2 separate regions of the Homo sapiens genome follow, and region 2 is linked to region 1. The links are contacts of gene promoters, found by promoter capture Hi-C in human tissues and cell types (Jung and others, 2019). All regions are on one chromosome and are shown on one strand. Each heading gives the region's core, a stretch centred on a gene start or on the middle of the fragment in contact. The rest is flanking DNA. Distances are from core to core; before and after follow the strand shown. Region 1 holds the start of ZNF879 (zinc finger protein 879). Region 2 overlaps ZFP2 (ZFP2 zinc finger protein).

The links. Contacts are between HindIII fragments. The study calls those that stand out against the background at their distance.
Region 2: a contact is called between a fragment that was not itself captured here and the fragment with the promoter of ZNF879 in region 1, in 2 of the 25 tissues and cell types used here (aorta and dorsolateral prefrontal cortex).

What each region holds. Positions count from the first base shown.
Region 1 is chr5:179,021,103-179,026,056 of GRCh38, reverse strand. It overlaps ZNF879 (zinc finger protein 879), which reads right to left and starts at 2,253. Exons shown (of 5, transcript NM_001136116.3): 1 at 2,153-2,253; 2 at 1,020-1,087. The coding sequence starts at 1,052. RefSeq lists an enhancer at 2,124-2,625. The HindIII fragment of the contact is 17,237 bases long and covers 1-4,954 here.
Region 2 is chr5:178,914,701-178,920,315 of GRCh38, reverse strand. It overlaps ZFP2 (ZFP2 zinc finger protein), which reads right to left. Exons shown (of 5, transcript NM_030613.4): 4 at 3,606-3,751. Among named protein-coding and RNA genes, the nearest start is that of ZFP2, 22 kb to the right of the region's middle. The HindIII fragment of the contact is 3,776 bases long and covers 1,319-5,094 here.

The DNA.
Region 1 (4,954 bases), core at 1,004-3,503:
CTGGAGTGCAATGGCACAATCTCAGCTCACTGCAACCTCCACCTTCCGGGTTCAAGTGATTCTCCTGCCTCAGCCTCCGGACTAACTGGGATTACAGGAGCGCACCACCAGACCCACCACACCTGGCTTTTTTTTTTTTTGAGACGGAGTCTCGCTGTGTCACGCAGGCTGGAGTGCAGTGGCATGATCTCCGCTCGCTTCAACCCCTGCCTCCCGGGTTCAAGTGATTCTCCTGCCTCAGCCTCCAGAGCAGTTGGGACTATAGGCATGCACCACCATCCCTAGCTAACTTCTGTATTTTTAGTAGAGACCGGGTTTCACCATGTTGGTCAGGCTGGTCTTGAACTTCTGACCTCAAGTGATCTGCCCACCTTGGCCTCCCAAGGTCCTGGGAATACAGGGCCTCTCTTTTTCAAATTCCCCGTGTTAGGAAGGAATTATTTAACTCCTCCGTGTCTTTGTCCTCCACAGGGCAAAAACACCTGGATCTTTCACAAAGCTCTGGTAGTGGCAGTGGCCTGGCATTGGAGCCCCATTAAATTCTTTGTCAAAAAGCATGAGACTGGGGGCCGGGCGCGGTGGCTCACGCCCATAGTCCCAACACTTTAGGAGGCTGAGGCGGGCAGATTGCTTGAGGTCAGGAGTTCAAGACCAGCCTTGCCAACTTGTTGAAGCCTGGTCTCTACTAAAAATACAAAAATTAGCTGGGTGTGGTGGCACACATGCCTGTAGTCCCAGCTACCAGGGAGGTTGAGGCTGCAGTGAGCCATGTCCGTGCCACTGCACTCCAGCCTGGGTAACAGAGTGAGACCCTGTCTCAAAAAAGGGAAAGAAAAAAAAAAAAAAGCATGAGACAGGCTCTGAGGCAAGGGAAACACCTTCCTTCCAGAGTTTCTCAGCTACCAAGCCCTCTGGTCCTTCCCTGAGCTTCACTGGGTAGAGAAGCTCAACAACAGATGAAGAAGTTTACCACGTCTAGACCCTGAAGGCAGTTCAAGCAAAAAGAAGCCTTCACTCACCTGTACATGGGCTGGCAGCAACCTCCTTGCCATTTCTCCCTCCCTGCTGCCTCTCTTGGAGAAGGCACCTGGAATGGAGAAAAAAGCTGTGAGGTCTTTTCATCCAGCCTGCATGCCCACCCTCATTAGGCCAGACCAGGTTAGAAGCCATAAGCTGAGCACCTGCAGAGAAGGAGCCTGGAACTGCCCAGGCCAGAGGGGCCCTAAGTCCGGCCACTTAAACCAGTGTGGGAAGCAGGTTCAGAGTCACCGGGCCTGCTACCTTTCTGCCAGTGCTTTACGATAAAGACGAAAGGAGCGAAGGGATGAAGACCATCTGCCGTGCCTTAACAGGGTCAAGGGCAGAATCAGGCAAGGCTCATTCAGATAAAGTAATAGGAAATGACACAATATTCCACACATCTGCACTTGGATGTTGTTCAATACGAAAAACAGCAGTTGAAGAACTGATGCTCTTTTTTAGGAACAGCCAACCAAAAATTAGTCCTCTTTTCTTCCTCTTGTAAGATTTACTTCCTTTATCAAAAACAGTTATCAAAGCTGCTTAAAGGTAGCGTTACCCATTCTCCCTGGCCCCAAAAAAACAAGGGCGCAAGAAAACAGCATCACTAGCTAGAAATTGATTTAAAATTTAGAGAAATGGGAAGAAACGTAGCAAGTGGACATGGTTACGGTAAATAAAAAAAGAAATAGTTAAATCACTCTAGGACTGGCTGTAGGAAAACACTGCCAAACGTGCAAGACTGCCAAAAACGAGTAAATCTAAAGTTTAAACTCCGGGAAACGGAGTAGGGGGAGGCTTAAACCCACAAACACTAAGAGCGAAAAACCGCCCGGAGGGCTCCGGACCCTGAACCGAGGCGGCATTTTGCAGTTTCTGTTCTGGAGCCGTTTCCCCCGGAGTCCGGCCCAGGCTGCGGCCCAGGAGTCCAGCGGCGTCGAAGCGCCCTCCCGGCCTCCGCCAGGCCCTTCCCAGGCCACGCCCCCTCCGGGGCCGGGTTCACCTGCCGAGGCCGCCCCGGCTCGGACGCCCGGAGCCGGGGACTCGGCAGACACGCGCAGAGGCCAGCCCTCGTCCTGGTCCCGCCGCGGCAGCCGCACGCCCCGGGCCCGCCCTCACCGGCAGCCTGTACCTGGGCCCGCCTCGGCGGGGGGCGCGCAGCTCCACACCGCACAAGAGGCGAGCGGAACACCTAATTCAGAGACGTTTCCCGTCGCTGCCGGGCGCAACTGCGCCTGCGCGCCGGAGAGCCGACGGGTTTCCCTGGCTGAACCGCAGCGTTTGTCCCTCCGGACTTCATTTCCCAGACGTCGCTGCGGCACCACCACTTACGGTGTCCGAGAGAGAACCACAGCGCCGAGAGCGGAGAACGCGGTCGGGCTGTGGAGTTCGAGAAGGCTGAAGCCGAGTCCCTCAGCTTGGGCTCCAACTACTCTCCCTCCGCTAAACCACCCATTGTATTCGTAATTAGAATGACAAAAATAGTAAGACGGAAAAGTGAGTATGAATTTTTAAATCTGGAAGACTAGCCGCTGCTGATTATTCGCAGGTGGTGACAGAACTATTACAGTCCATTCTGCGATTTTAATTAAAAATGAATTATGTCTAAATTTTATAATCTCGGCCGGGCGCGGTGGCTTATGCCTGTAATCGCAGCACTTTGGGAGGCCGAGGTGGGCGGATCACAAGGTCAGGAGACCGAGACCATCTTGGCCAACATGGTGCAACCCTGTCTCTACGAAAACACGAAAAATTAGTCGGGCGTGGTGGCACATGCCTGTAATCCCAGCTATTCGGGAGGCTGAGGCAGGAGAATCGCTTGAACCTGGGAGGCGAAGGTTGCGGTGAGCTCAGATCGCGCCATTGCACTCCAGCCTGGGTGACAGAGCAAGACTCTGTCTCAAATAAATAAATAAATAAATAAATAAATTTTTGTAATCTTTACATATTTACTGGCACTCAGAGTAAAACAAAAGCATAAGCCTAGTATTTCCCTCTTCATGGCACTCACTTCTTTTGAAGTGACTTCTTTAAAACGTAAAATAAAGCCCAACTCCCAGCGCTATCATCACAACTGCATCCTCGGTGACCGGCACTGTACACGCCAAATACTATGTGCTCAGAAAGTGTTGATTTTTAAAATATCAAACATTAGCGTTTACAGAGACAAACCTAAACACAAAGGGTACTTGAAGATAGAAAATGCAGAGAGGGACTAAGAGATATCAGGTAGATAATATGAAAAAGAAATCTTGGATCACGATGTTACAACAATACAAAGATTATTGCAATGTAAAAATAATTAAATCGAACAAAATGGATGTTTTATATTGTTAAAAGATAATAATGCACATCACTAATCATTAGGGGAATGCAGATCAAAGCAGATCAAACATCCACTGCGATTTCACACTCATTAGGTTGGCTATTATAAAATTTGGAAAAAAAAGAAAACCAGAAAACAATCCTTGTGCCTTAATGGTGGGAATGTAAAATGGTAGCGCTGCGCTGGAAAACGGTATGGCAGTTCCTCAAAAAAAAATTAAATGTAGAATTAACACATGGGCAATTCCATTTCTGGACCATATGTTATTTCTATATTTAATTATTATTTTAAAATAATAATAATAAAGATATGACAGTTATAGACCATTATTGACAAAACAACATAGCATTGAGATTTACAAAGTAAAAGGTGCCAGACTGAGTACCCATGATTACCTCCCTTTTTCTCTTCATATTCTTCAAAGTAACCCCAAACACATATAATTTTCAAAGGAGCAAATCTAATGCAACTCTAGAAAAATACCATCAGAACACCAGAAATTGAGGAAACATTTGGAAGACATGCAGGAGACAAGTGCTCTGATACCCAAAATCTAATAAAAAGATTCAGAAGAAAGCAGAGAAAATGGGGAGGGGGAATAATAACAGATTGATTACATACAGAAATAGTGATAGAGATATAGCAGAAAACACATTCAAGCTGAGGAAGCCCTGAGTCTTCAGAGTAAATAAAATGTAGGGAGTTTGGCATAATGAATGAGCTAGGGTAGGGATGGCCCATAAAAAATACATCCTCGATGAAATATCACAACTCTGAGGATAAATAGGAACCCCTAAAAGTGGCCAGAAAAGACGGAATAAAAGGTTGGCATGTGTTATTTGCTACAAGTCACAGAAGATGGAACTGCTCAAGTTGGCTGAAATGAATAAGGAATAGCAAGAAATCACTGGGGCAGACTCCGGCTAGAGAAGAATCGGTGGTTCTATGATGTCAGCAAAAACCAGGTTTTGGCCGGGGGTGGTGGCTCAAGCCTGTAATCCCAGCTATTTGGGAGGCTGAGGCAGGGCAGTTGCTTGAACCCGGGAGGCGGAGGTTGCAGTGAGCTGAGATCGCGCCACTGCACTCCAGCCTGGGGGACAGAGCGACACTCTCAGAAAAAAACAAACAAACACGTTTCTTCCTTTTCTCCACCCTGATCCTCAGGAGCTGGATGTGATGTGGATATGTAAACAAAATCTAGGTTCTGTTGAGAATTAGGAAGGCGAGAGGATATTAGGTAACCAAGAAAGTCCACTACTCTAGACGAACCAAAGAAAGTGCAGCTGACATCAGGCTTCTCAGCAACACGGGTTCTAGAAGATGGTGTGGAGCAATGTCCTCAGATTTCAAACAGAAAATGATTTGGAATTTAAATAGAGTACTATAGATTCTGTAGAATACTATAACCTTCCAATCTTGCATTGGATTGTGAGTGAAGCAAAGGCATTTGGAGGATGAATGTATTTACATAGATTCCAATTCATAGAGTATCTCTGCTAGAATTAGTAATGAATGTAACTCATTTAAAAAAAGAAGAATCCCGCCGGGCGCAGTGGCTCACACCTGTAGTCCCAACACTTTCAGAGGCCAAAGTGGGCAGATGGCTTG
Region 2 (5,615 bases), core at 1,957-4,456, 110 kb after region 1:
GAAAATAGAAATCTTGCTAAATAGGTCCAACAGCAGAAGGGTGAAAAAAGGAAAGAATTAACTTGAAGACAGATTAAAAGAAATTATTCAATCTGAACAACACAGAGAGAAAAGATTGAGAAAAAATAAAGATGAAGAGCACCTCAGGGATGTATGGGACAACAACAAAAGATCTCATATATGTCTCACTGGAGTCCCAGAGAAGGAGAAAATGTTTGGTGCTGAAAAAGTATTTGAAGAAATCATGGTTAAAAGCTTATATTTGACAGAAGATTTCAACCTATAGGAACAGGGTAAACCCAAAGAAATCCACGCCCAGATGCATCATAATCAAATTTTTTTTTTTTTCTTTTGAGACAGAGTCCACTCTGTCGCCCAGGCTGAAGTGCAGTGGTACAACCTTGGCTCACTGCAACCTTCACCTCCTGGGTTCAAGCGATTCCCGTGCCTCCTCAGCCTCCCAAGTAGCTGGGACTACAGGCATGCACTACCACACCCAGGTAGTTTTGTATTTTTTGCAGAGAAAGGGTTTCGCCATGTTTTGCCCAGGCCAGTCTCAAACTCCTGGCCTCAAGTGATCCACCTGCCTTCACCTCCCAAAGTGCTGAGATTACAGGTGTGAACCACTATGCCCAGCCATAATTAAATTCTAAAAATGGAAGTAAAAAACAATCTTGAAAGCAACCAGGGAAAATTGATACACTACTTGGTGGCAGGGCAAAAATGTGAATAACTGAATTTCTCATCAGAAACCATGGATGCCAGAAGGAAGTGGATTAATTATTTCAAAGTGCTGAAAGAAATAACCATAAACCTAGAGTTCTATATTAGCAAAAATCTTTCAGGAATGAAGGTGAAATAAAGACATTCTCATATGAAAGAAAACTAAGAGAATTTGTCACCAGCAGACCCACCCTGTTAAGTCATTGTAATATCAGAGCCAGAACTCTTAATGTTTTTAAACAATGCTGGTTACTTAGACATCAAGAGTATAACTAGCACGAAGAAGGATTTATCCAGGAAATAAAGAATGGTTCACTATTAAGAATCTATTACTATCATATTAATAGGTCATAGGTCATATGATCAACCTGATAGATGGTTCAGAAGTATTCAACTGGTATCCTTCATCCATTCGTGTTCAAAAACAAAAATATTAGCATTGCACCAAGAATACAAATAAAGCCCTAGAAGAATTCTCTCTAATAACAGAACCAAGGAAAAGGTGCTTACTATTACTACTACTATTTAATGTTATTCCAGAAGTGTGACCAATATGGCCACTGAGATGGGGGGAAATTTTTAATTTTTCCCAGATTATATAACTGTCTACCTACAAAATGAAAAACGGTTAGGGGGGCTTTACTCAGAATTGATGGAGTATTGTGGGCTTGGAGCCTGAGCAGTATAGGTCAGAAACTGTAGCTCTTCCAGGATTAAACAATGTTTCAGATCCTTGACATTTTACTATCTCATTAAATAAGGACTTTATAAAGCACAAAGCATTATGCTTGGATGTAATAAGGATCCAGTGATTATTAGCTGTTATCATTACCATCATTACTATTTTACATTAAGCAACATACAGTTCTCTCTGCCTTTCCTTTTTTCCTAAACAAGACTTTTGAGTAATAATACTGGAAATACTCAATACTCCCTTAACGGCTTGGAATGCTTTTTCTGCCTTCACTCGTTAACTTATAGGATTTATATAACTCTGATACTCACCAGGACATGAACTAGAGTCTCCAGACCAAGGTGTCTGGTCTGTCACAGACCCCTTAGTACACACGGCTGGCACAAGCCATAGCAGAGGCTGGGAGCTTGCACAGTATGGGTGTGTGGGATGGGACTGGGCAGCAAGCAGGTCCCATGCTTCTTGAAAAGGGCAAGTTGATTTATTTATTTTCTCCTTTTATATTTCTTCCATCCTCTGGGTAACAGTTAGCTACTCCTAACACCCAACTAGACTATTTCTATACCCACCTGTCTGGATTTTCTATTTAAACTCTTGCTACCCTACAATGCATTCTCTCCATATAGCAGTCAAACTGGTTTTATGAACACGATAAATCATTCATTCAATAAATACTTATCAAGCCAGGTACTGTTCTGGGTGCTCAGGATATAGCAATAAACAGAAAAAATGTCTGCCCTTATGAAACATATTTTAGCAAGAGAAAGGGAGACAATAAGTAAGTGGTATACCTTACAGAAAAACAATAAAAGCATTTAAATGGATATAGGGAACATGATGGGTGAGAGAAAACGTCTGCAATTTTAAAGTGGGTCATAAGAAAAGGCCTCACTGAAAAGGTGACATTTAAACCAAGACTTTAAGGGACTAAGAGAGGAAGTCATAGGACTATCTAAGGGAAAGCTTCCCAGACAGGGTAACAGCCAGTGCTAAGGCCCTGAGGCAGCAGTGGGCCTGTCTTATTTAAGGAAGAATGAACTTTTTGAATACTTCTACATTCATTATAGTATTTTAGATCAGTTTTCCTAGTAACGAAAGCAAAGATATGTGTACGTATTAAACATCAGTGAGGCTCATGTGAGCATGCAGGCAGATAGAGACTCTTAACTATATAAATTCTCTGTGTATGTTTCTCTATATATGTACACATATATTTACATGGACAGACATACATATATGCAGAAGTAGTTATCCAGTACATCTCTGAAAATTTTTTTTTTTTTTGAGATGGAGTCTTGCTCTGTTGCCCAGGCTGGAGTGCAGTGGCATGATCTCGGCTTACTGCAACTTCCACCTCCCGGGTTCAAGTGATTCTCACGCTTCAGCCTCCTGAGTAGCTGGAATTATAGGTACGTGCCACCATACCTGGCTAATTTTTGTATTTTTAGTAGAGACGGGGTTTCACCATGTTGGCCAGACTGGTCTCGAACTCTTGACCTCAAGAGATCTGCCCGCCTCAGCCTCCCAAAATGCTGGGATTACAGGTGTGAGCCACGACGCCCGGCCACATTTTTAAAAATCATGTGTGAAACACAGACAGCAGGCTCCTATGTTTAGGGATGGTTAGGGTGGCTTCCTGGAGAGCTAAAAAGATTATAGAATCCCCAACTGTATTTTTACACATAATCTTTGATAGTACTTTATTCATGTTCTTAATTTTTATCTCCTTCATAACTGAATATGATTAAATGATTTAAATCTAATTGCTATTGATGAGAGGCTAAAAGACACTGCTTTCCACATTACTAAAAATTTCTATCTTTTCTCAAAATTAGTCAGTTTACAATGAAAATACTGGCACCAGGGACAGCACTTCTGGATTTGCAGTTTCTATTCATCTTTTGTAAAACAGGAGCAAAAATCTAACAATGCTTTCAACTGTACAAAGCTTTAGTACAGAGAAAAGAAATGATGCTGAAAAGAAAATTAGGCCAGGATACAGAAGTTTCTAGTTTTACTAAATATACTAGGAAATAACAACACAGCAGGGCAAGGGAAGAAAGCGAGAATTACCATTAAACTCAAAGTAAAAAACCAACAAAACAAAAGATATGTGTTCAGATTCTGACATGTTATTTCACCTTTCAGAGCCAATGTCTTCCACCGTAAGAGGAGTACCAGTACTTACCTATAGATGTTTTGTGTCAAGTAAGTGAGATGCTGGCTGTGGAAGAGCTGAGCACAGCACTCAGTCAATACTTTCTCCCCTTGACTGGGACAGGATAATGAGAGGACTAAATGTCAGATTAATCTGACAGCAATATCCAAGAAAATCTGGAAAGAACAAGATCTGGAGTTTGCAAATCATCATGTTCTATGGGCTCCTTTCCATTCAACTTTCGCCTATCTTTAGTTTCTCCCACTGCAATGGACACCTCTCTGCTCTTTCAGATACACTCAAGTCTTTTCCTTGTTAAAAAACAAACCACAGGCTTCTTCTGAGTTCTTACTCTTTCTTCCTTTTCCTTAGAAGCTGGCCTTGTTGAAACGACAGTCTGTACTTAAAAGTCTTCACTTGCTTGCTTCCTCTTCACTTTTCTGCCCACAGCGTATTTCTCTCAGCACTAAATGGGCTCTTCCCTGGGTCCCAGGCCACTCCCTCATCACCAAATCCAACAGGCATTTTCATTCCCTACTTGGCACTGTCATACTCTACCTTGACTCTCCTCTCTCCCTTCGACCATGTTCTCCTGCTGGGCCCTCTCCTCCTCCTTGGACCACTCACCTTCACCAGAGCATCCTTGGCCCCCTCACTATGTTATTGTCCTGAGGGTCCCACCTTTGCTGTTTTGCCCTGCCCACTCATTCATTCATCCCAATAATTATCCAATCTGTATTGATATGAATTTCATAAATTCAAATTTATATTTTCACCAGATTTATGAAAATTCTAATTGATGTCATTAAATATTCACTCAACAAATATTTAAGTACTTACTCCAGCAAGCAATGTCATAGTCAGGGAATGTAAAGAAAAACATGTTCAATGACAATTCGGTGAGCCTACATATTAGTGGGTATTGCTCCGCTGCCCAGGCTGGAGTGCAGTGGCACAATCTCAGCTTACCGCAACCTCAGCCTCCCGGGTTGAAGTGATTCTTGCACCTCAGCCTCCCGAGTAGCTGGGATTACAGGTGCACGCAACCATGCCCGGCTAAAGACAGACAGACATGGAAAATGATGAGCAAAATACAGTGTCACATGCAGTAAAAAAAAAAACAAGTGAGCTGGGTGCCATGGCTCACGCCTATAATCCTAGCACTTTGGGAGGCTGAGGTGGGCAGACTGCCTGAGCTCAGGAGTTTGAGACCAGCCTGGACAACACAGTGAAACCCTGTCTCTACTAAAATGCAAAAAATTAGCCGGGCACGGCAGTGTGCACCTGTAGTCCCAGCTACTCAGGAGGCTGAGGCAGAAGAATTGCTTGAACCTGGAAGGCGGAGGTTGCAGTGAGCCAAGACTGCACCACTGCACTCCAGCCTGACTCCATCTCAAAAAAAAAAAAAAAAAAAAAAAGAAAGAAAAACCTTTAGGTTCTAACCCAGTAGGGAAGCACGAATGGGGTAAAGAAGTGGGAGATGAAAACACAGTATCAAAATATATGTGTTTGCTTCTGCTGCTTCCAGAAAACCCACCAGAATGACAATAAGCAATGAAAATGGCATCAATAAAATAATCTAGGGAGCAAGGAAAAAACTGCTGCACATACATACCAGAAAACCAGAAACAAAAACAATGAAATACTCCCAAACAGATGAGTGAAGTTAGTGTATGCGTTAGAAAGACTGCTATTTAAGAAGAACATTCAGACAATGAGTGGCTCACAGAAATTTAAAAAATGATAGTACAAATAGATCTTTTTACAGAAGGACTGAAACGTAAGGTTTACAGAAATCTTCGTATCTGCTAGCACACTCCCCTTCAAACAATGCCACACAATCTCCTACCTCAGGGCCTTCGCACCTGCTGTTCCCTATGTCCTCAATGTTCTCCCATGTGGCCCATCACTTTGAGTATTTGCTCAAAAGTCTCATTAAAGGAGAAGCCCTCCCTGTAAAATCACACTCCTGTTAACTAATGTCATTCTCTTATGCTGCTTTATTTTTCCACACCGCACCTATCACTGTGTTATATTCAT